7 separate regions of the Homo sapiens genome follow, and regions 1, 2, 3, 4, 5 and 7 are each linked to region 6. Evidence: promoter capture Hi-C in 16 types of primary human blood cells and fetal thymus (Javierre and others, 2016). All regions are on one chromosome and are shown on one strand. Each heading gives the region's core, a stretch centred on a gene start or on the middle of the fragment in contact. The rest is flanking DNA. Distances are from core to core; before and after follow the strand shown. Region 1 has its middle 9.6 kb from the start of HNMT. Region 2 overlaps HNMT (histamine N-methyltransferase). Region 3 has its middle 130 kb from the start of HNMT. Region 4 overlaps LOC107985948 (a long non-coding RNA gene). Region 5 has its middle 27 kb from the start of HNMT. Region 6 holds the start of NXPH2 (neurexophilin 2). Region 7 overlaps LOC101928273 (a long non-coding RNA gene).

What was found. Contacts are between HindIII fragments. The CHiCAGO score rates a contact against its expected background, and 5 or more counts as called.
Region 1: a contact is called between a fragment that was not itself captured here and the fragment with the promoter of NXPH2 in region 6, in 8 of 17 cell types (total B cells, naive CD8 T cells, naive B cells and 5 more). The highest score is 13.0, in total B cells.
Region 2: a contact is called between a fragment that was not itself captured here and the fragment with the promoter of NXPH2 in region 6, in 2 of 17 cell types (total CD4 T cells and naive CD8 T cells). The highest score is 5.4, in total CD4 T cells.
Region 3: a contact is called between a fragment that was not itself captured here and the fragment with the promoter of NXPH2 in region 6, in 1 of 17 cell types (naive CD8 T cells). The highest score is 5.4, in naive CD8 T cells.
Region 4: a fragment that was not itself captured here is called in contact with the fragment with the promoter of NXPH2 in region 6 in 2 of 17 cell types (naive B cells and total B cells); the score reaches 5.6 in naive B cells.
Region 5: a fragment that was not itself captured here is called in contact with the fragment with the promoter of NXPH2 in region 6 in 2 of 17 cell types (total B cells and megakaryocytes); the score reaches 7.6 in total B cells.
Region 7: a fragment that was not itself captured here is called in contact with the fragment with the promoter of NXPH2 in region 6 in 2 of 17 cell types (naive CD8 T cells and total B cells); the score reaches 5.2 in naive CD8 T cells.

The regions. Positions count from the first base shown.
Region 1 is chr2:137,953,568-137,956,275 of GRCh38, forward strand. No RefSeq gene overlaps it. Among named protein-coding and RNA genes, the nearest start is that of HNMT, 9.6 kb to the right of the region's middle. The HindIII fragment of the contact is 4,517 bases long and covers 1-2,708 here.
Region 2 is chr2:137,974,243-137,977,082 of GRCh38, forward strand. The region is part of intron 2 of HNMT (histamine N-methyltransferase); the gene reads left to right. Among named protein-coding and RNA genes, the nearest start is that of HNMT, 11 kb to the left of the region's middle. The HindIII fragment of the contact is 300 bases long and covers 1,401-1,700 here.
Region 3 is chr2:137,835,762-137,838,749 of GRCh38, forward strand. No RefSeq gene overlaps it. Among named protein-coding and RNA genes, the nearest start is that of HNMT, 130 kb to the right of the region's middle. The HindIII fragment of the contact is 1,894 bases long and covers 499-2,392 here.
Region 4 is chr2:138,017,954-138,020,653 of GRCh38, forward strand. The region is part of intron 2 of LOC107985948 (a long non-coding RNA gene); the gene reads right to left. Among named protein-coding and RNA genes, the nearest start is that of HNMT, 55 kb to the left of the region's middle. The HindIII fragment of the contact is 1,377 bases long and covers 681-2,057 here.
Region 5 is chr2:137,935,967-137,938,962 of GRCh38, forward strand. No RefSeq gene overlaps it. Among named protein-coding and RNA genes, the nearest start is that of HNMT, 27 kb to the right of the region's middle. The HindIII fragment of the contact is 1,837 bases long and covers 485-2,321 here.
Region 6 is chr2:138,778,989-138,781,783 of GRCh38, forward strand. It overlaps NXPH2 (neurexophilin 2), which reads right to left and starts at 1,402. Exons shown (of 2, transcript NM_007226.3): 1 at 1,203-1,402. The coding sequence starts at 1,253. The HindIII fragment of the contact is 12,898 bases long and covers 1-2,795 here.
Region 7 is chr2:137,880,796-137,883,596 of GRCh38, forward strand. All of the region lies in intron 2 of LOC101928273 (a long non-coding RNA gene), which reads right to left. Among named protein-coding and RNA genes, the nearest start is that of HNMT, 82 kb to the right of the region's middle. The HindIII fragment of the contact is 9,603 bases long and covers 1-2,801 here.

The sequences.
Region 1 (2,708 bases), core at 149-2,648, 830 kb before region 6:
TCCCTCTGTCTGCCACCTAGCAGCAAGCTGCAACATCCTCTATTCATGGGGATCTTGCTTTGAATTCTAATTTCAAGTTGAGTTTTCATACATAATTTTGGCTCATTCCAAATTTACTGAAATTATTTTCTTGAATATCATCAATATCTACTTTCGGCTCACATTTTCACTATGGAAGTCTCCCTGGATATGGCTATTAAGAAGTTTGAGCTATATCTCCTTTCAATACTGGATTGCAGTTAGTATTTTAAAACAAATTAAACAAAACGAATTCCCCAAACAAATTCAATTCCAATATGCATTAATTTCCTATCCTGACTAGAGATAAAAAGGTGATAAAAATGAAACTTAGAAAAATGATTCTAGCAGCAATATTATGAAAAACATGAGCTTTTCACTGTTTATCTGACTAGTAAAAGACCAAATATGTACTGTGAAAAGTTTTAATCAACTTTGACATTTTGTTCCTGGTCCAAACTGAGGGTCGGGCAGCTATCCCTTGCGCGCCAATAACAAGATGCAGATGAATTGGGGAGAAACAGAGTTTTTATTTCTGTAACCAGTCACAGGGAGAAGGCCTGGATCACCAGACCAACTCAAAATTACAAAGTTTTTCAGAGCTTATATACCTTCTAAGCTATATGTCTACATGTAAGTGTGCATTCATCTAATGTTGTAAGTGAATAACTTCTTTTAATCCGTAACTAAGGCCTAAGTCCTGAAGACCTTCCTCTGGAGCCTCAGTAAATTTACTTCATGTAAATGGGTCCAGGTGCTGGGGTGATTACCCTTATCTTGTCTCCTGCTAAATCATGGAGGTTTGGGGAGTTCCCACAGACCTCCAATAAACTTGTTTGTGGAGGCCTGGGGAGTTGCTTCAGACCCACAGTAAAACTTGTTTAATCCTGAATAGGTTCTGTTAAGAGTTCCTTTGTTATTTTGTCATGTTTTAAGGCCCAGGAAAGGCCTAAGCAAAACTCTTGGTGGGCATTTGTTACATTCCAGCCTTTATATAAGGGTACTGACTTTTAATATTTAACTTAACCACTCAGTCAGTACTGAAACAGTTGTTATGGAGGCCTGCATTAGTGAGACCTGGCCTGTCACAATTTCAACCAGCATTTCATTAGGCACCATAACTAGAAACACAGTATAAAACAGAACATACACTTGTGAGAGGCAAAAATCACTGTACTTTTAAAAATTGTCTTTACTTCCTTTTTTGTTTGTTTTAGTAGTATGGAGTTTTGGAGACAAGATCATCTACAGATCAATTCAGAATTATCAAATAGCAAATTTTCAAAAATTATTGAGTTAATCTCCATAAACCTTCACCATCTTTGACCCAATCTGCATTTCACTGCTGCTAGAACTGGACCAGTGGAAGTATTAATTTGGAGTAGTAGAGCAGAGAGTCTTTAAATACACTTTTGGGAACATTATGCCTCTGTTTTTAACCATGTGTTTATTAACTACAAATTTCAGTTGATGGCACAAAATGTGTGCCAAATTGATAACTCTGGAATGTATTTTACCAGAGATCATCTCTGAGCTACTTGAGCTGACTGACACCCCATGTATAATGTCTGATTATACAACATCCTGGGAGCTACTTCTTCTATAGGCATTGACTATATTTAAAAACAACTGCTTTGGGAGGCCGACGCAGGAGGATTGCTTGAGGCCAGGAGTTCAAGACCAGACTGGGCAACAGAGTGAGACTTCCCAATGCTACAAAAAAAAAAAAAAAAAAAACTTAAAGTAGCCAGGCATGGTGTCTTATGCCTGTAGTCCTAGATACTTGGGAGGCTTAGGCAAGGGGATTGCTTGAGCCCAGGAGTTCAAGGCTGCAGTGTGTGGTGATTGTGCCACTGTACTCCAGCCTGGGTGACTGAGTGAGACCCTGTCTTTAAAGACAACAACAACAACAACAACAACTCTTAGAGTCCTATGTAGGAAATAATAAAATAAACATTGAATTCATATGCATTTTGTTTTTAATTAGCCATATTTATAAACAGACTTTAATTATTTTCTACTGCCTGAGAACATATGGGTAATTACTTTGATCCCCTTATGTTTTCCAAATTGTTAGTGCATCACAATGGTATAATCTATGCTTAGAAATGCAAAGTAGCTTTGAATTTGTATTAGGGAAGGAGGAGCACCAAAGAGTCAGAGAATGAGACACATCGAGTGCCAAATGTCTTACAAATGGCATCCTAATTCAAGCCTGAAATATGAGCCGTGTCTCTGATTAACAGGTGTAAACTCAAGTAGTCTTAGAATTTTAGAACTGGAAATGAATGATGGCATCTAGTTCTCTACATCTGAAGAAATTCAAGGCAACTGAATTAAGTGCTTGCTCAAAGTCACACAGGGAGTTAGTAAGCAGTGTAACATGGAGAGAAGCAGGAGCGGGAGTCGCCCATTAGTCCATCTTCTGACCCCCAGCGAGCACAGGAGGAGAAAGGGACAGACAGCTCTGAAATTCTCAGATCTGAAAAGGAATCCCATCATCATGGGACTCCTAATGACCTCCCATTATCAGGTGCCCGCTGATGAGTTTCCCAAAACCCTGATACATTCCCAAGAAATAGTTTTCAGCCAAATACCCTCATCAAACAAAGTCAGTCTTCTTTAAGAGTTCATGAGTACTAGCTCTCATTGACCTGTAGCTATCACAATAGACACCTTTTGTTTTCACT
Region 2 (2,840 bases), core at 301-2,800, 800 kb before region 6:
AAAATGAGTGGCCAGAATTGCTTTATTCAGGGTCTTGAAGTATTCATGTTGTTAATTTCTGCAATTGTTTTTAGGTTTTGAGAGTAATGCATATATTCTAAATCTCATAGAACATGCTTCTGGGTCCATCAACATTGGTGCTTCCTTAAATTAAACCTCTTGATGGGGGTTTTCATTATTATTCAACCTCTAATGAGTGTTGTCTTCATGCTAGATGGTACGTGGGAAAAAAGAAACCCATATTCTTTTTGGTAAGAGAGAATGCTATTAATTTACAGTGCATATATTTATACCTGAAAACATGTTCCAGAAAGCAGTCACGGCCAATGTGTTCTCCTTGCTCTGGGCTCTGCTTAAAGGATAATCATTTTATCTGTCCCAGTGTTTGGTTCTTATGTTCAAATGCCAGAAAGTTTTTTAAGAGTTAGACAGAGCTGTAACTCAAATAATCACATTTAATCCAGCTTCCTACTTCTATTTTCATTAACCTATTGTATATTAACTCAACCACTATACCATTGCTATACCAATAATTGTATATACATTTATAGATAAATTTTTTAACCCACTCAAGCAACTCATATATGAAATACAGGTGTTATCAACCCTCATAATATTTTTTGTAATAATTTTTCTGACATATGTTGAGACCAGTTTGATGGGTCTCCTGTTCTGCAGCATATAGACACCAGCATTTCTACAGAGGTTAAAACCTAGAAGAAAATTTACAGACCATCAACACTCTCACTTCACAAATAAGAAACCTGGGGACCATCAAGGCAGAAGAAAACCCAGATCTCTTGACTTTAGTCCAGTCCAACAAATTGTACTAAACAGATTTAATAGTTAATTCTTAACCTGGTAAGGGAGAAAGTGTCTGAGACAGCTCTCAATCAATTTAGAGGTTTATTTTACCAAGGTTGAGGATGCAACTGAGAAAAAGAGACCTAGGTTGCAGTAGCATCTGTGATCTGTGCTTTTTCCAAAGAGGTGTTTGAAGGCTTCAATATTTAAAGGGGGAAGAGCAGCAGGAGAGAAGGAGGAAAGAAAAAAATAGGGAGGGTAGGGAGTAAGGTAAGTGGTCACTTTCTTGTGAGGGTTTGATCAGTACTCACTGAATCCACATGTTATATGTAAAAGGAGGGGGGCCACATGGAGAAATAGTGGCCTTCTGTCATTGCACCTATCTGTTTAGGTACAAAAGGGAAGGCAGTTTTTGTGTGACCCAGTTCTCAAGTGTAACTCTTCCTTTTAACATAGTGAGTTTGGAGTCCCAGGATTTTATTTTCCTTTCACAGGAGAGATTAGGTACTTAGCAATGACTAGCTATTTGAAAATCTAACCTTATCAGATTATTAACCTTGTCTCCTTTCATAAATAACATGTTAAGGTAACACAGAAGCTTAATACTTTAAGCTGATTGGATGGCAGTAGAATGAATGTAATTCAAGTAGGAACTGGAAGATCCAGTGTGTCAGGTTTAGAAACTAGGAGGTGGCAGGAAGCAAAGGTTAATGTTTACCAATGATCCATAGTAAGCCAACAGTACAGATCAACAAACTTAAAATGTGTGAGAAAATACAGGGAATTGAGGTATTTTTTGCTTGGAAAAAAGAATTTGATTGTGCTTATTGCCATTTTCGTATATTTTCTGATGGGCAAACAATAGAATATTTGCCCTCAAAGCGCCAATGGTTGAAAGCTTCAGAGAGTGATTTCTTGGCTCAGTGTAAGAGCCTGTTGGCTGGGCCTGGTGGCTCACGCCTGTAATCCCAGTACTTTGGGAGGCCAACTGGGGCCGATCACCTGAGGTCAGGAGTTTGAGACCAGCCTGGCCAACATAGTGAAACCCGGCTTTTCTAAAAACACAAAAATTAGCTGGGCATGGTGGCACACACCTGCAATCCCAGCTACTCGGGAGGCTGATGCAGGAGAATCTCTTGAACCTGGGAGGAGGAGGTTGCAGTGAGCCGAGATCGGGCCATTGCACTCCAGCCTGGGGGACAGAGCAAGACTCCATCTCAAAAAAACAAAAAACAAAAAAAAAAAAACCTGTCTATAAATAGAAAATAACTTCCACTCCTTGGGAGATAAAAAGTCATTCTAGTGGTGTCAGCACAGGTTGGAGAAATACTTTACAGATATGTTATGGAAGGGACTTAGGCACTGATTTTCTTGTGTGTTTGGGCCATCAAACGTGCTTTCAGTCTTGAAATCTTGTTTTATGAGTCACCTTCTAGAAAAGAGGTAGGAATATTTTTCGGAGTAGTGTGGCTATTACCATGTTTGCTGTATTGAGGAAGCGGTATTCTAATGGGGTTTCTAGACCTGCAGACAACTTTGGGAATGGATTTTAATTGCTTATAACTAAAAATGAGTAAAAACTAGTACTTATATGCAGCATCATAGCAGTTAACTCCTTTACCAGAAGGATATAGATTATAATCATAAACTAATCTACAAGATTTAGAACTACTTTACATAAACACAGTTATAGTTTGGGGCATCATTTTATTAAAGGCATTTGTTAAATATATGATTAAAAAATAAAGTATTCTTCATAAATAATTTTACCAAAATAGCTTACCCCATTGTATTGTATTTAAAACTTTCAGTGAGCATTGAGCTATTGTTAAAGACAGATAAGTTACAGATTCAAGAGAAGGGAGCATAGTGTTAGAACACTGGAGTGATTGTCATTAAAAGCAGAGTAAACAAGATTGTTTTGGCTAATTCAATAAGGTTAGAAACAGCAAAACAAGGGATAATGAACCAAGTGAGGACAAAACTATCATTGCAGATTAAATGACTGTATACTTACAAAAGCAAATAAACTTAGT
Region 3 (2,988 bases), core at 196-2,695, 940 kb before region 6:
AGAGAGATGTCTGGTCTGAGCCAACCCAAACTAAAAATCACATGTAAGACTCACATTTACAACTCTGGAGCCCTTAAGTGGGCAGACCAGACAAGCAATCTTTTCTTAGAATGTTTAAAACAGCTGTTCCCAACTAGTTGTGCTTCATTATTATATTTCCACCCATAAGTAGGTATATGTCCATACAAAACTCAATTTGGGAGATCAGAGCTTGCCTCTCTTACTGAGACATCTGATGCTTTTGAGGGAGGTGTCCATCTCAATGTTGCTTCTCATCCCAAGACTCACTCTCCCCAGTCCCAGCAATTCCATGTGATACATTGTCAATAGCTGTAACAAGGATAGTTACAATTTACGCTGCATTTAGTATCTGAAGTATGTGTCCTTGTTTTAAAGTAATGACTTTGATTTACTGCTTTCTGAATTCCCATAATAACTCTTTGACATATATTTAATCATCCTGATTTTATATTTTAAGAATTTCAGTTCAAGACTTTAAGCTTCTTTTCTAAAGTCGAATAGCCAGGAGATGGGGGACCTGGTGTCTGCTGTCTGTGATGTAGTCATTTCCGTGCTTGGTGTTGGTGTGATGCTTGGGTTTTACTACCAATTCCTTTTGTGGGTTTTTTTTTTTTTTTTCCTTGTGGGCACCTCCAGCACTGAGATTCTGCTTTTATGTCCTGCCTTTTATGGACTGCCGTTCACACACTACTCCAACTTGCAGAGTGCTCCTACAGCGTTGCCTATCTCAGAGGCAGGGCCACCTCATGTTTGGCTGGTCCCAAGGAAAGGATGCAAATGTAAGGCCCACATTCCACTTGTCTAAATATTTTAATTTATAAGCCAAGTTAACTAATCATTTAATTAAATATGTTTAATCCTCCTACCTTGACAAATATACAAAAAAGACCAGAGAGGCTACATTTCAGTTCAGAATGATCAAATTCCTCAGCCAGAACCTGGAGGTGCCAGAAGAGAAGGGTCCTGGAGCCCAGCAAGCCACCTGTCGGCTCCATTCTCTCCTGCGAAGGGCCTCACACATTCACCACCCCCAGCCTAGGAGTGTGCACAGTATAATGCTAGCCACCCCAGAGAGGGCAGGTCTAGAGAAAAAGCCTGTAGGGGACTTGGGGAAGGGCTGGGAGGCCATGTGGGTGAATAATTCTGGGATCTGGGCACCACCTGTATCACTGGCTGGGAGGGGAAGATGCTAATTCTGGGGACATGTTCCACTGGCCCCATGGGCACATCCTCGATGGCAAGGGGCCTCCAGAAATTAGTCCAGTGTGGGGTCTTAGATGGGTCTAAAGGCAATACTCTTTGGGGTTTCTCCAAACTTTGGCTTCTTTCATTGAAGACCATTGAAGTAATGAGGAACCTCTGGGTCAAACGCCAGACAAGTTGTCTTGCAGCAAGGCAAGCTGGTCTGCTAGAGCCAGTGCCCTACAACCCTACAACCCTTTAGAATTGTTTCCTTCCTAGTATCCAGTGCTTTTCTGTAGATATGAGCCATCCATTCACAGAGGCTGTGGTGTGAACATTCATTCTCTAAAATAGGACACCTTTCCCAGGATCTCATGTATTTTATTTTAAAAGAATCTGCAATTTAAACCAAAGGAATAAATTTGCTAATCATGGAATTTCTAGCACACTGGAAAAATACATGGGGACAGGAATTTTCTTGATATAAACCTGTACTAGTTTCCTAGAGTTACCATTTCAAAAGGCCACAAATTTGGTAGCTTAGCATGATAAGAATTTATAATATTTACTTAGAGTTGTGGCATACAGGATTCTGAAATTAGGGTGTTGGCAGAACCACGCACCTCCCAGAAGCTCTAGAGGGGAATCCTTCCCTGCCTCTTCAGGCTTCTGGCGGCTCGGGTGTTCCTGGGTTTGTGATCACGCCACTGCAATCTCTGCCCCTGTCTTCATATGGCCGAATCCTCTCTGTCACACATCTCCCTGTGCCTTTCTAAGGACACTGGCCATTGGATTTAGAACTCACCTGGATAATACAGGATGAGCTCATCTCAGGATTCTTAACTTCATTACGTCTTCAAATACCTTTTGTTTTCTTTTCTAAATTAGGTCACATTCACGGGTTCTATGTGGACATATTTTGGGAGGGCTTCCATTAACTCACTATGAAATTCTCATGCATTCATAAACTAAAGGCAGATGTAGGAAGAGGGAAGTGGTGAGCACTGGAGTCCCTGCTGTGACCTCCTGCCTGTGCGAAGGCCATGACTGTTAGTCCAACATTGCAGACCTCTCGAAACTTGGCAATGCTCCTCATAGGAGAGGAACTTCACGTGTCAAGGAGAGATGGGGAGGGGAGCAACTGCATTTGAGAACATGAAGAGAAGGTTATTGTGACACTTTGCAGGGAAGCTTTAGCCACATTGAAGCAGAGTAAAGAATAAATCTTCTCTCTTTACTTTTCAAGACCCATAATTTCCTCACAACCATACCTGGAGATTAGTTTAGGACCTAAAATCTAAATTGTATTATTTTTCCCTACCCAAAGGAGACACAGAGCTATTAATAATCGACTGCTTATTAAATCTTAAGTATTTTAATAATATTACTCCGTTTTACTTCATTTTTCTTTCCCTTGTAAGAAAAATAACATTCACACCCATTATATAAATGTGAACACTGAGGCCTTGTGATGTTAAGCAACTTGCCAGGATCTCATAGATAGGAATTAGAGGAGCTGAGACACATAGAGTCCATGCTCTTTCTAGCCCGGGAGTCCATCTAGAACAGTCCTGGCCCTCTAAGTTGACTGCCTTAACATGACTGAATTTCCTCCTTTTCTCCTGAAACAGCGGTAAAACATCCTTTAACAGCAGCCAGAGAAGCTTGGGCTGAGGGAATAGATTTTCCTTTTGCTTACACTGTACTGCCATCTAGTGGCTACATAGTTAATTACAAATAATACCTTTTCTGGTGTCTTCATTCTTTTTTTGGGGGGGGTATTGG
Region 4 (2,700 bases), core at 119-2,618, 760 kb before region 6:
GCCACTGTGGGCCACATGTGGGAGGACCTCACTGGGATGCCATGGTTTGAAGGTGAGGCATGGAACCAACTTGCAGAGAGAATGAGAGATGCCAGGAGTCTAAGACCACATGGCCTTTGAATGGGAGATGAGCTTTGGCTGTCTCAAGGAAGGGTTCTTGCAGTTTCTATTCCCATCTGTGTCTAACCTGAACAAATACCATTTTACTCCAGGTATCCTTGTGGGTGTCTGCTTCTTGCCTCCCAAATGTCTTAGGTAGAGCAAAATAGAAGATCTTATTTGGTTGTTACCTCATGAATTAGAAAGATTATTTATTATTATCCTATTTCATAGGTGAGGAAACTGAGATACTAATACACTGAATAATTTAACCCAGCTCCCAAAGCAAGTTGATAACAGGAAGTTAGCCAAACCCTATACCTGCCCGGCCGACTCACACTGTATGTCTGCATATTGGGCAAGTTAAATATGTGATCTTCATTCATCTTAGATGCGGAGTATGACTTCATAGAACTAAATCACCTTTGCCCCCAAATATCCACTTGTACATTGAAGGGGACCTGATTATAAAAGGGAAGAAGAAGCAATCAGAGGATCAGAGTACTATGAAAAAATCACCTCCTTGAATAATGAGATAGTACTCTTTCTAAATACTACACTTCAGTAACAAGTTCATTTTAAGCTTGTCATAAATATCTGATTTTTCCATCCCATTGCCTTAACTTTTGCCTGTATTTCTCTGCCTCACCTCCTACCAGGTCCCAGACATCACCAATTTCATGTTTAAATTATCTGTCATTCATACCCTAGCTCCCCTATGATTCATAAACTGTGCAATACACATCCATAGTACATGATCAACTAATGCAGGATAGTTAAAGCTAAGGATCATGTAATCCATTTCTCAGTGTGATATACACCATAAAAAGGCAACTGCAGTAAAAGGGGGGTTGATTTAAGGGCTCCCTGGGTAACGACAGTCACAATTTCTAAATGTGCCAAAAATTAATTAGGGCTCTGAGTCAGATTGTAGTAATCTCTGTGGCAATGGATTAATAAATACAGCAAGACGCCGTTCTGGAGGCTGCACTGACACATGGGGATACTCTGTATAAGCAGTGCCTTTCCATGATCATATTCTTCTCTTGAAGAATTATCTGTGTTTCCTGGCTTGTCTTAATGATACTTGAAGGACTTTGCAAACAACCTGCTTAGGATAGAAAATGTTGAAATAAATCACAGGGGCCATGAGGTATAGTCCAACCTTGGTGAGTTCTCCAAAGACATTTGCTATAGAAGATGCAGAAAAGTGTCAGTACCTTTATTTATGTTCTACAGCTAACTAATTTCATGCTAATTTCATTTCTATACTGTGATTCCTTTTTCTGCATGTGTTGATATATGGGTTTCATGAGTTAATTCTCTGGTTTTCAATGCAGGCAGACTGGACATAAATCCCAGGGTTTTGTAGAAGAGGCAGTTGCTCCATGCTGCTTATTATCAGCAGGAGCACATTGCAGCCTTAGCTTATTTATCAAGATATTGCTGCCTCATGCCACACATTTCCCAACAGACTTCATCTACCCCACAATAGCCTTTAATGGAAGGTGCATTACCCTCCTTGTGGTTTGTTTATAATTACTTTTATTTCTCCAGGACTGATTGGGAGAGGAGTTTGGACTTATTCTTCATTGTATAAGTTACCCAGGCAAGGAAATTAGCCAGGGCTTACTGCTCCAGTAGAAGCCTCATGGGATGGATATGTTTGGGCAAGGTTGGCAACTTATGAGTTTCCCATCTGTGTGTCCTAGGAATGGTGGAGCAAAAACTGGCTCTTCAGCTTGGCTGCTTCCCTCTGTTTTCTTTGGCCATTCTAATTCATAGTTTCCAGCTTGAAAAAGAGTTAATCATGGAGGAAGATTCTTTGCTAAATAAAACAGACCATAAGGGATTTAAAAGACCCCATTTTAATAATAGTTAACATTTCTTGAGGGCTTATTACGTGTTGTGCTCATGTTAAGTGTTTATAGGCATTATACAACCTAATCCTCATAACAAGCTTATGAGTGAGTTAGTTACAATTTCTATTCCAATTTCACAAAGAAGGAAACTGAGGTTTAAATTATATATTAAATTATATAATGTGTACCTCATTCTTACATCTGGTGGAGCCAGAATTCTAATACACACGAATTAACCCCAGGGACCATGTTCATAACCACTACATCTTGCTGTCTTTAATAATGTTGACCTTCATTGCCTCTCTGTCCCTTTTCTTCCTCTTTAAGTTTCATATAGGAATTATCTCCTAGCTTCTTAATTTTTATCCTATTTCCCAGGGACGGATCTCACCTGGTGACTCTAGCATAAAGATAGTACCTGTTTGACTTGATCAACTTTGGCCCAAAATATATTATCTTCAAGAGGCAAAATATATTATCTTCAAGAGGCAAAATACATTATCTTCAAGAGGCTACTCCTGTATGATTGTGGCTTGGTCTCTTGGGCAAGAGAGAACAATCCCAGTAAACTGATCCATTATTTTGACCTTGTATAAACATATCCTCAGTTACTGAGCATCTGATAACAAAAGCCTTTTTAACAGCAATATTGAGCCCAGTGTGGCTCCAGCTGGACAGAGTCATTAGGTGAGGTGGCAGAGACTAGCCCCCTCTGCCTTCCTTCTATGGTAATAGAGTG
Region 5 (2,996 bases), core at 153-2,652, 840 kb before region 6:
GTTATAATTTTGCAATAGCTATTTCAGTGTCTTCATCTATAAAACAGGGATAATAAGAATTATACCTCATAGATTTCTATGAGAATGAAATAAGCTGAGAGTCATAAAATGTTTGAAAAATTAGCTGGCTTAAATAAGTACTCTTATTTTTTAAATATCTGTTAATGAAGTATTAGTCAGCTTTTTTTTTTTTTTTTGTAATAATCTTGAGTGTTGACCCAAGGAATCTTTTGCACTAAGGCAGAGTTTTCATGTAAAAATCCAGCCTGGGCCGGGCACGGTGGCTCACGCCTGTAATCCCAGCACTTCGGGAGGCCAAGGGGGTCACATCACGAGTTCAGGAGATGGAGACCATCCTGGCTAACAAGGTGAAACCCCATCTCTACTAAAAATACAAAAAATTAGCCGGGCATGGTGGCAGGCGCCTGTAGTCCCAGCTACTCGGGAGACTGAGGCAGGAGAATGGCGCAAACCCGGGAGGTAAAGCTTGCAGTGAGCTGAGATTGCGCCACTGCACTCCAGCCTGGAAGACAGAGCAAGACTCCGTCTCAAAAAAAAAAAAAAAAAAAAAAAATCCAGCCTGTACATTTTGAGAAAAGGGATATCACACACTTGATTAGCTCTGCGCAGTCTTTGTATCAGAAATGTAAACACTAGCTGTTGTAAGACATAAAGCCTGACATCTCGGTGGCTTAATAAAAAAAAGGCATTTATTTTTCATCATGTAAAATTCAATCTGCAACAAGGATTGGGGCGAGAGTGGCATCTATGGTTGTTTTAGTCTGCTCAGGCTGCCATAACAAAATACCACAGACTGTTTGGCTTAAACAACAAAACATTTTAAAATCACAGTTCTGGAGGCTAGAAATTCAAGACTAAGATGTTGTCAGGGTTGTTGTCTAGTGAGGGCTCTTTTCCTTGCTCACAGATGGCCTCCTTCTCACTGTGCCCTCACATCTTCTTTCCTCTGTGCTCTCACTGCTAGGCTGGGGGAGAGAGAGCATGCTCTGGTCTTTCTTCTACTTATAAGGAGGAGAGAAGGGTACGTAGTCTTTCAGAGATCCAGGCTGAAAGAGGATCCACCATTTTCAGCACGGAGCTTCTAGGATCTCCCTGAGTGTCAATATTCAGCAGCAAGTGAAGAGAAAGAATTGTAGACATGAGGGTAAGTGGCCAAGGTCAGTAATCACTTCTGCCCACTTCCCACTGGCTGAATGCAGTTGCATTCTTCCTAACTGCAAGGGAGATTGGGAAAAGCTGTCTACAGTGTGGAAGGAAATAAATTTTGTGAATAACTAGCTATTGAATAGTCCTATTGAATCTTCCTCACAGTTGTTGGACCTCCTAGACATAAGAGGGAAAAAAAGTGCACCTTTTCTTAGCTCTTCCAGAGTGTTCTCTAGTGCATGCTACTTTCAAGTTCTTTCCCCAAACTTTTCTCACCTATGTTTGCCTATGGGGCTGTGACTCAGAAGTTCATGAGCAATGTGTTCCTATAAAGAAGAAGGAGTGTAGGGCCACCTTCGGCTTATGTTTTAGCTCTAGAGGATGAGGGAAGAGCCAACGTGTGCCAGTTTGAGGATGGATGTACAGTGAGTAGTGAGGGGCTTTTTCCACCTTGAACGCATGAGCGCTCTTGAGGCCCTCCCACTGTACATTCAGAGTCACCAGATTTGTGCATGATATCTCTGCACATACAAGAAAAGAGTTCCTGTGACTGCTCAATATTTTCTGTCTTGGTAAGAATGAAGAGCAAGAGAACTAAGGCCCTAGGAAAAGGCAATGGCAAAGAACAGATACGTGGCTTTCACCCCCGCCACTATCTTTCCAGAAAACCCCATGTAAACCTTGAGCACACTGCAAAGTCATGGTTTGGGCAGGTTTCTTTCTCTAGCAAGAAAGCCCCATGCCACCCTGCCAGTTCACTGGGGCCTCTCAGGCACCATTCTCAGCATGAGCTATTGGTTGGGTCAGGTATGTAGGGGAGCTGCTGGTGCCACTGAAGTCACGTGATAATTGTGGGCTCCTGGCCAGGAATCTGCTGATCTAGCTTGGGGACAGGGTGGGCAGGATGTGCCATTGATTCCCTTGTGAGAAATTCCTAAGAACCTACTCTCCATCTGCAGTTAATTCTCGCAGGACAATTAAGGGATTTTTTTTCTCTCTCTCTTCTCTAAAGCAAACAAATAAAGGTCCAATTATTTTTCCAGCAATCTGAGTTTAAGAGTCTAAAATTCTAATTTTTTGTTTCCTGGAAACAGTAAAATTCAATTGCCATTTGTTTTCTTCTTTAAAATCCCCTTTACCGCACTTTCAAAGTAAGCTTTTCTCATAGCCCTGAAGAGCCTTTGTCTTTAGGTTGTCAGTAAAAACAAGTTGATCCCTTTGACTCCGTTGGTTGAGATATGAGTGCACTGAAATGTGTCCCACAGCCATTGCCAAAGTTGTGGTTTTTCAATTTATGTTGGAGACAAAAGAGTCCAAGGAGAATTCCACTTGTGTAGGTTGCATAAGAGCCGACAAACAAAGCTGAACTGGATAAGAGTATAAAGAAAATAAGAGAAGCAAAATGTGTGATAGAGGCCACAGATACTGCTGTAGAGAGCGAGATGGTGACAAGGTGAAAAGGGGCTGCAAATTTATTAACTGGCTCAGTCCTTCCTGAGAGCTCTGCACCATATCTCCTCCAAACAGGTGCAGATTTTCTTTTAGTTTTATAAAGATTAGAGCAAGAAAGAAGCTGCTTTTAAAACAAGAAAAAAAAATCAGTTTCAGTGCACCATCTTGTATAATATTTTATCCTATTGTACCCTGTCATGGTTTAGGTATCACTGTATTCTCTCATTGTGTCATATATATATTAAGAGCTAAATAAATGTCTGTTTCATTGAATAGTTCAGCTCTGCTCTCACCTCTCCTAATTAAACCAACACCACATGCCACTTGCTACCTCCTGAACAATAATTATTTTTGTGTTTCTTCATTTCTCCAACAGC
Region 6 (2,795 bases), core at 152-2,651:
AGAGTTCCTTCCACCCTCAGAACTTGCAAAGTGCCTCTGCCTTAACAATATCATACATATCATAAACTTTCAAAGTTACTTGATTTTCCCCCTAATAGGAAAAGAAAGAGACAAAGAGAACGAGAGAGAGAGCGAGCGAGAGAGAAGAGACTGTCATCTTCTAAGTGCTTGGGCAAAGTCTTAAGTATGAGGACCAAAGAAACTATGGCATCAGGAGAAAGCCCTCTTAATAGCACCCTAACAAGGCAAGAGCTAAGTGACCAGAAGAAATCCATCACAGATGCTGACCCAGCCAAAGCACTCCCCTTCTGTAATTTTACTTTAAAAGTTTCTTCTTGAAGATCTTACTTTGGTTTTCCCTCAACTATAATTAGCCATGCATATAGAACATAGGCGTATATCAGGAGGAGGAGAGCGTGGCGCCTCGCGGGAAGAGAGAAGAGAGTGACAACGCGAACCCCAAACCACATTTTAATACGTTTCTTATTCCTCAGCGCCTCCGAGCCACCCAGACCAGGCGGGCGGTCTCCCTGAAAAGACAGCTTCGAGATGCCCGAGAGGGGGCTCCTGCGCGGAGCTGGGCATGAAAGTTATATCTTGTGTCCCCAGCTGGCAGAAAGCCCCATCCCAGTCCCTAGCGCCAGACGGAAAACGAAGAGAAATCCAAGCTGTCCCCCAAATCCGTATTTTGCCTAAGTTTTCTCCCAGCAAGGCGCCACTACCTGGCTCTGAGAACGAGGATGCATGCACTATGCTGTGCTTTGGGAGAAGTGTCTGTGTGCATCTGGGCAAAACACCACGTGAAAAATAAACACCACCAAGCCTCTCAAACTGTGAACAGGAGGAAGGTCTTTCTGCCCCTTCTCATCCTATCAATTTACTTTCCTTCCTCTCCTTGACCGCTTATCAATAAACCGCTTCCTTCTCCCGGACCTACTTCCCGGCCACCTTCTGCCTACTTTACCCCAGCGCTCAAGTCCCAACCCGTGCTAAGCCCCTGAGTCGCCTGTAGATCCCGTCTATTCCGTTCTTCAATTCTTCCCTTTCGACCTCTAAGGCAACCCAAAACTCCTTGCCCTCCGCGCGCCCCCAACCCCACTTCCCAAGCAGGCCCAGGCTGGGCTCCAAGTCAGCCGCCTGCGCGGTTTTCCCGCCGAAACGCGTCCCCGGCGTGTGGGACGGCGCGCGGGCCGGGCACTCACCAGCTGCAGCAAGCCAGGGACCACCACGAGGGGCAGCGGCCGCAGGCGCATGGTGCCGGCTGGCGCGGCTTTTCACGAGCTGCGCGCCCTCGCCTGCCTCTCGCGCATCTCCACTTCGCGGGGCAGGACTGAGGACGCCAGGGACACAGCGCGGCGCTTCCCTCCCGGAATCCGAGCGCTGCGCCGTGCCGCGCAGCTCTGGCCGGGTGGGCGGGCAGGGAAGGGGGAGGGTGGGCGGACCGGAGGTGCCTCTCCCGGCCCCCCGCGCGCCCCTCCTCGGAGGGGGCCGGCAAAGAGCCTGCGGGGCAGCTCGAGCTCCGGCACGCGGCGGGGGGCTTCAGTCGCGCCTTGGACTCTCCCGCTTGGCCGGGCTTGGGGTGAGCGCGTGGGGCGCCTGCGGGAGGGAGGCGGCGGCTCGGGCGCTTGGGTGATGGGTTCAGTGCGAGGCTGCCCTCCAGATCCGATCCCGCCGGGCGGATGCCTGGCCGAGCTGAGCACGCCTGGCCAGCCGGTGCCCCAGAGCCCCGAGAGGCCGGGTGCCTCCTCCCACCCCCGCCCAGCAGAAGGCCGGTCCGAGAGGCTCCACTGTGCCAAGCGCCCTGCCAACTGACTGGCTCTCGCTTTGGCTGGGGAGATTGGGGATGAGGGGAAGAAAAGGTTCTCCCTGGGTGGCTGCAAGAAAGAGTGCGCCCGCCTGGAGAGCGCCCAGAGAGTTTAGGAGGGGAAGGCGATTGCAGAGTCCTGGGGCGGGGCGTGGGGAGCTGCGAACGGAAAAGGCTGGGGCGGGGAGGTGAGGCTGGAGCCCAGGACGCCCTGGGAGAGTGCCCTACTCTGCCGCAGCGCCAAGCTCGCAGAGCCGCGGGTAAGGGGTACAAAGTGCGCCTGGTGCGGCTGGAAGGATTTCTGGGGTTGGGGAGTAATGGGGACCTCGAGGGACCAGGAGCAGAACTGTGAGAAACGGAGCTAGGTGATGTCTGGTTTACTCCGGTTTGGGGATGGTATAGACAGCTAGGTGTCCTGAAGACAGACAAAGTTGCTCCCAGACCTTCTGCCCGGGCTTTGGAGAAGCAGAATAAAGGCAGGATACCCCACCACAGCCTCCGACTTCAGAAATATTGGAGAGGGGTATCTTTGCGGACGGGCGAAGGTGCAAACCTGATGCCTGTGAGCCTCGACCTCCGTGTTAACAACTCGCCATTGGAGAGATCCTTAACCTTTTACTATCTTTGTGCTGGACACTCGAGTGGAAAAATCAAAGGCAATGGGGCTCACAGACCTGCACTGTTTTTACGGTAGATCAGAGTTTGGGCGTCATTCGTCACTCCTTTATTGAACAGGTGGGAAACCTAAGGTCCAGAGAGATACATTCACTTCTCCAAGGATGAGACTTTAGGCAGTTGCTCCGACAGAATACCCAAGGCGAGAATGCTTCTTACATCTAGAAACGCAAAGCTCTTAGAGAAGAAAACCATGTTGAAGCAAGGGAGTAGAATTGCAATTGATTTCTAGGCTTTAAAAAATAAACCCAACAAAAAGCACAGATTAAGTTGTAATTTTTGGACAAAAAAAAAAAAGTTTCCTTCTCCTCTGCTT
Region 7 (2,801 bases), core at 101-2,600, 900 kb before region 6:
TCACTCCTGTGCCTGACCTTAAGGTCAGCTAGAAAGCAGGTAAGACTGGAATAAAGAAAGAAGAAAAGTGGATGTGCTACTCCCTACTCCTCTGCAAGCCTGGAGAGCCTCGAATCAAGCCTGGGAGTGGGACGGGGAGCTGGAAATGAAGTTATTTTAGACTAGGTTGCACTTTTTTCCTTTTTTTTGCAAACATACAATGCATAAGTCAAGAATTCTAAATGTACAGCTGGATGACTTTTTTCTTATCTCCACCCATGTAAACCCTAGCCAGAACTTCTCAGGAAACAAACAATAACCTGACTTCTATCACTTTAGATGGCTAACTCTTCTTGAGCTCTCCATAAACGGAATTATGCATTATGAAATCTTTTGTGGCTGGCTTCTTTCCCCCTACATTATGTCTGTGGGTGTCATGCTGAGGGTCGTGTGGTCGGCAGTGTATTTTTACTGCTGTATAGCTCCCCGTGGTGGGAATGTATCACCACTGGCTTATCCATTCCATTAGTGATGGATGGATTGTTTTTAGGCTTTGACTATTAGGGATTAAACTACTATGAACATATTTGTATGTGTGCTTCTCACGGGTAAAGTGCATAGGAGTGGACTTGCTGGGTCACAGAAGACCACATTGAACATTCGTAATGTAGGGAAAGGCAGTCTCATACTCACCCCCACTCAGCTACGTAAGAATGGGCTTGGGCCTGGAACACTTCCTTATCAAGAGATAGAGTCCTCGCAGCTTGACCTGGGCTTGTCACCTTGTGTGGGACTATCTTTCCCTGCTTCTGAGTCAGTGTGTGCACTCCTTTGTTCTGATTAAGTGAATGTATGAATGGTTCTCCCCAGCTTTTCGTATTTCAGATCCCACAGCTGCGGGAGGGAATGGGAAAGGTGGGTTTTGGGGAGGGGATTCTTTTACTGCAGCATAAAGTGGGATGCCTGCAGCCATACTGCCCACCTTGGCTTTGGAGTGGATCTGCTGCCTATGGGGGACTGGCACGTTTCAAGGGACTGGATCTTGTAAACACTCTCTCTCTCATTTTGGTGTAAGTAAACACTGTACCACTTGAGCCTGCTAGGCGTCTTGTCTGCTCTCAGTGACCTCAAATCATGCACTGGTCTCTCCCCTGGGCGGCGCTTCTTCCCCTGTTAACCTTGACCACATTTGACCACATTCTTGTGATAGTCTATCCTGCAGCACAACCTGACCACCCAGTGAACACTGAAACAAGTAGATCCTGCTAAACAATTTTCCTAGGTTCATGTAAAACTTTATACTGTAGTCAGCAGTGTATGAGAGTTCCAGGTGCTCCACTTCCTCACATATTAAATTTTACATTGAATAGTCTTTTAAGTTTGAGTCATTGTGTAGTGGTGTCTCATTGCATTTCCCCAATAAGTAATGATGTCGTATTGACCGTGTGTGTGTGTGTGTGAGTGTGTGTGTGTGAAGTTCCTTTTCTAGTCTTTTGACCACTTTGACCATTTTTATTGAGGAGCTTCTTTTTATATATTCAGGACACAAATCCTTAGTTATATATATAGTAATTTTCCCCAGTGTGTGCTTGAGATTTTCACTCTCTAAATGGGTGTCTTTTGATGAGCAGAAATTGTGAATTTTAGGAAAGTTTAATTTATCAATTATAGTTATAGTTGTGTACAGTTTGGAAAATCGTTGCCTATCCCAATGTTATAAAAATAATGTCCTATGTTCTCTTTTAAGAGGCTACATGATTTTACATTTCTCACCAAGGTCTCAGATCTAGTTGATGTGATTTTTGCAAATCACAGACTCGCTTTTGTATAGGGTATGAGGAGGGGTCAAAATAAATTTTTCCTCATAGATATCCAGTTGATCCAGCACCTTTTATTGAAAAGGCCATTCTACACACTAAATTGTAGTAGTTCTTTTGTCAAAAATCAGGTGACTATATATAGAAACGTCTGTTTCTGATCTGTTTTCTGTTTTATTATTCTGTGTGTCCATGCTTGTTCTAACACCTTACTGTTTGATGTACTTTAGCTTTATAGTAAGTTTTGATATTTAATCATGTAAATCCTCAAACTTTGTTCTCTTTCAAAGTTATCTTGGCTATTAAATTCTTGGTATTTCCAAATATAGTTTTAAAACAGTGTCAGATAATGCTGCTTTTGTATTACTTAAAGGTGAAATACTCAGTACCTGAACACAATGACAAATTCTATGATCTGAAACTAACCTCTGGGTGTGGGAATTTGAAAGTTAGTGGATAAAGAGAGTAGCTATGTTTTCTGCTTTCATCTCACTAAATCTAGTTTATTTAACAATCAGATTGCAATAACATAATAAATTCTATAGTAAGATTGTATATAATTAGCTATATATTGGAAGAGGAGGAAAAAGTTATAACTGTGAGTGCTGATGAAGCTAACATTTTACATGCATTTTGAAGTGTGAATAAACATTAAACAGGAAGAAAGGGCAGGAAAAGAAATGTACTTATTTCATGGAATAAGATGTAAGAGATGTGAAAGAAAAATATGAGAAATGTAATCAGTAATGCTTTAAAAAAAAGAAAGTAGGGAAGCCGTTAATCTACCGTGGCTGTTACATTGATGTTCAAAATGAGAACTAAAGCCATATTCAACTGCAGCCTCCCACACTTTTATCATACTTTTCTTATATCTGTTCGTTCTTTCTTTCTTCTTTTTTTTCGGAGTCTCGCTCTGTCACCCAGGCTGGAGTGCAGTGGCACGATCTCGGCTCACTACAACCTGCACCTCCCGGGGTCAAGCGATTCTCCTGCCTCAGCCTCCTG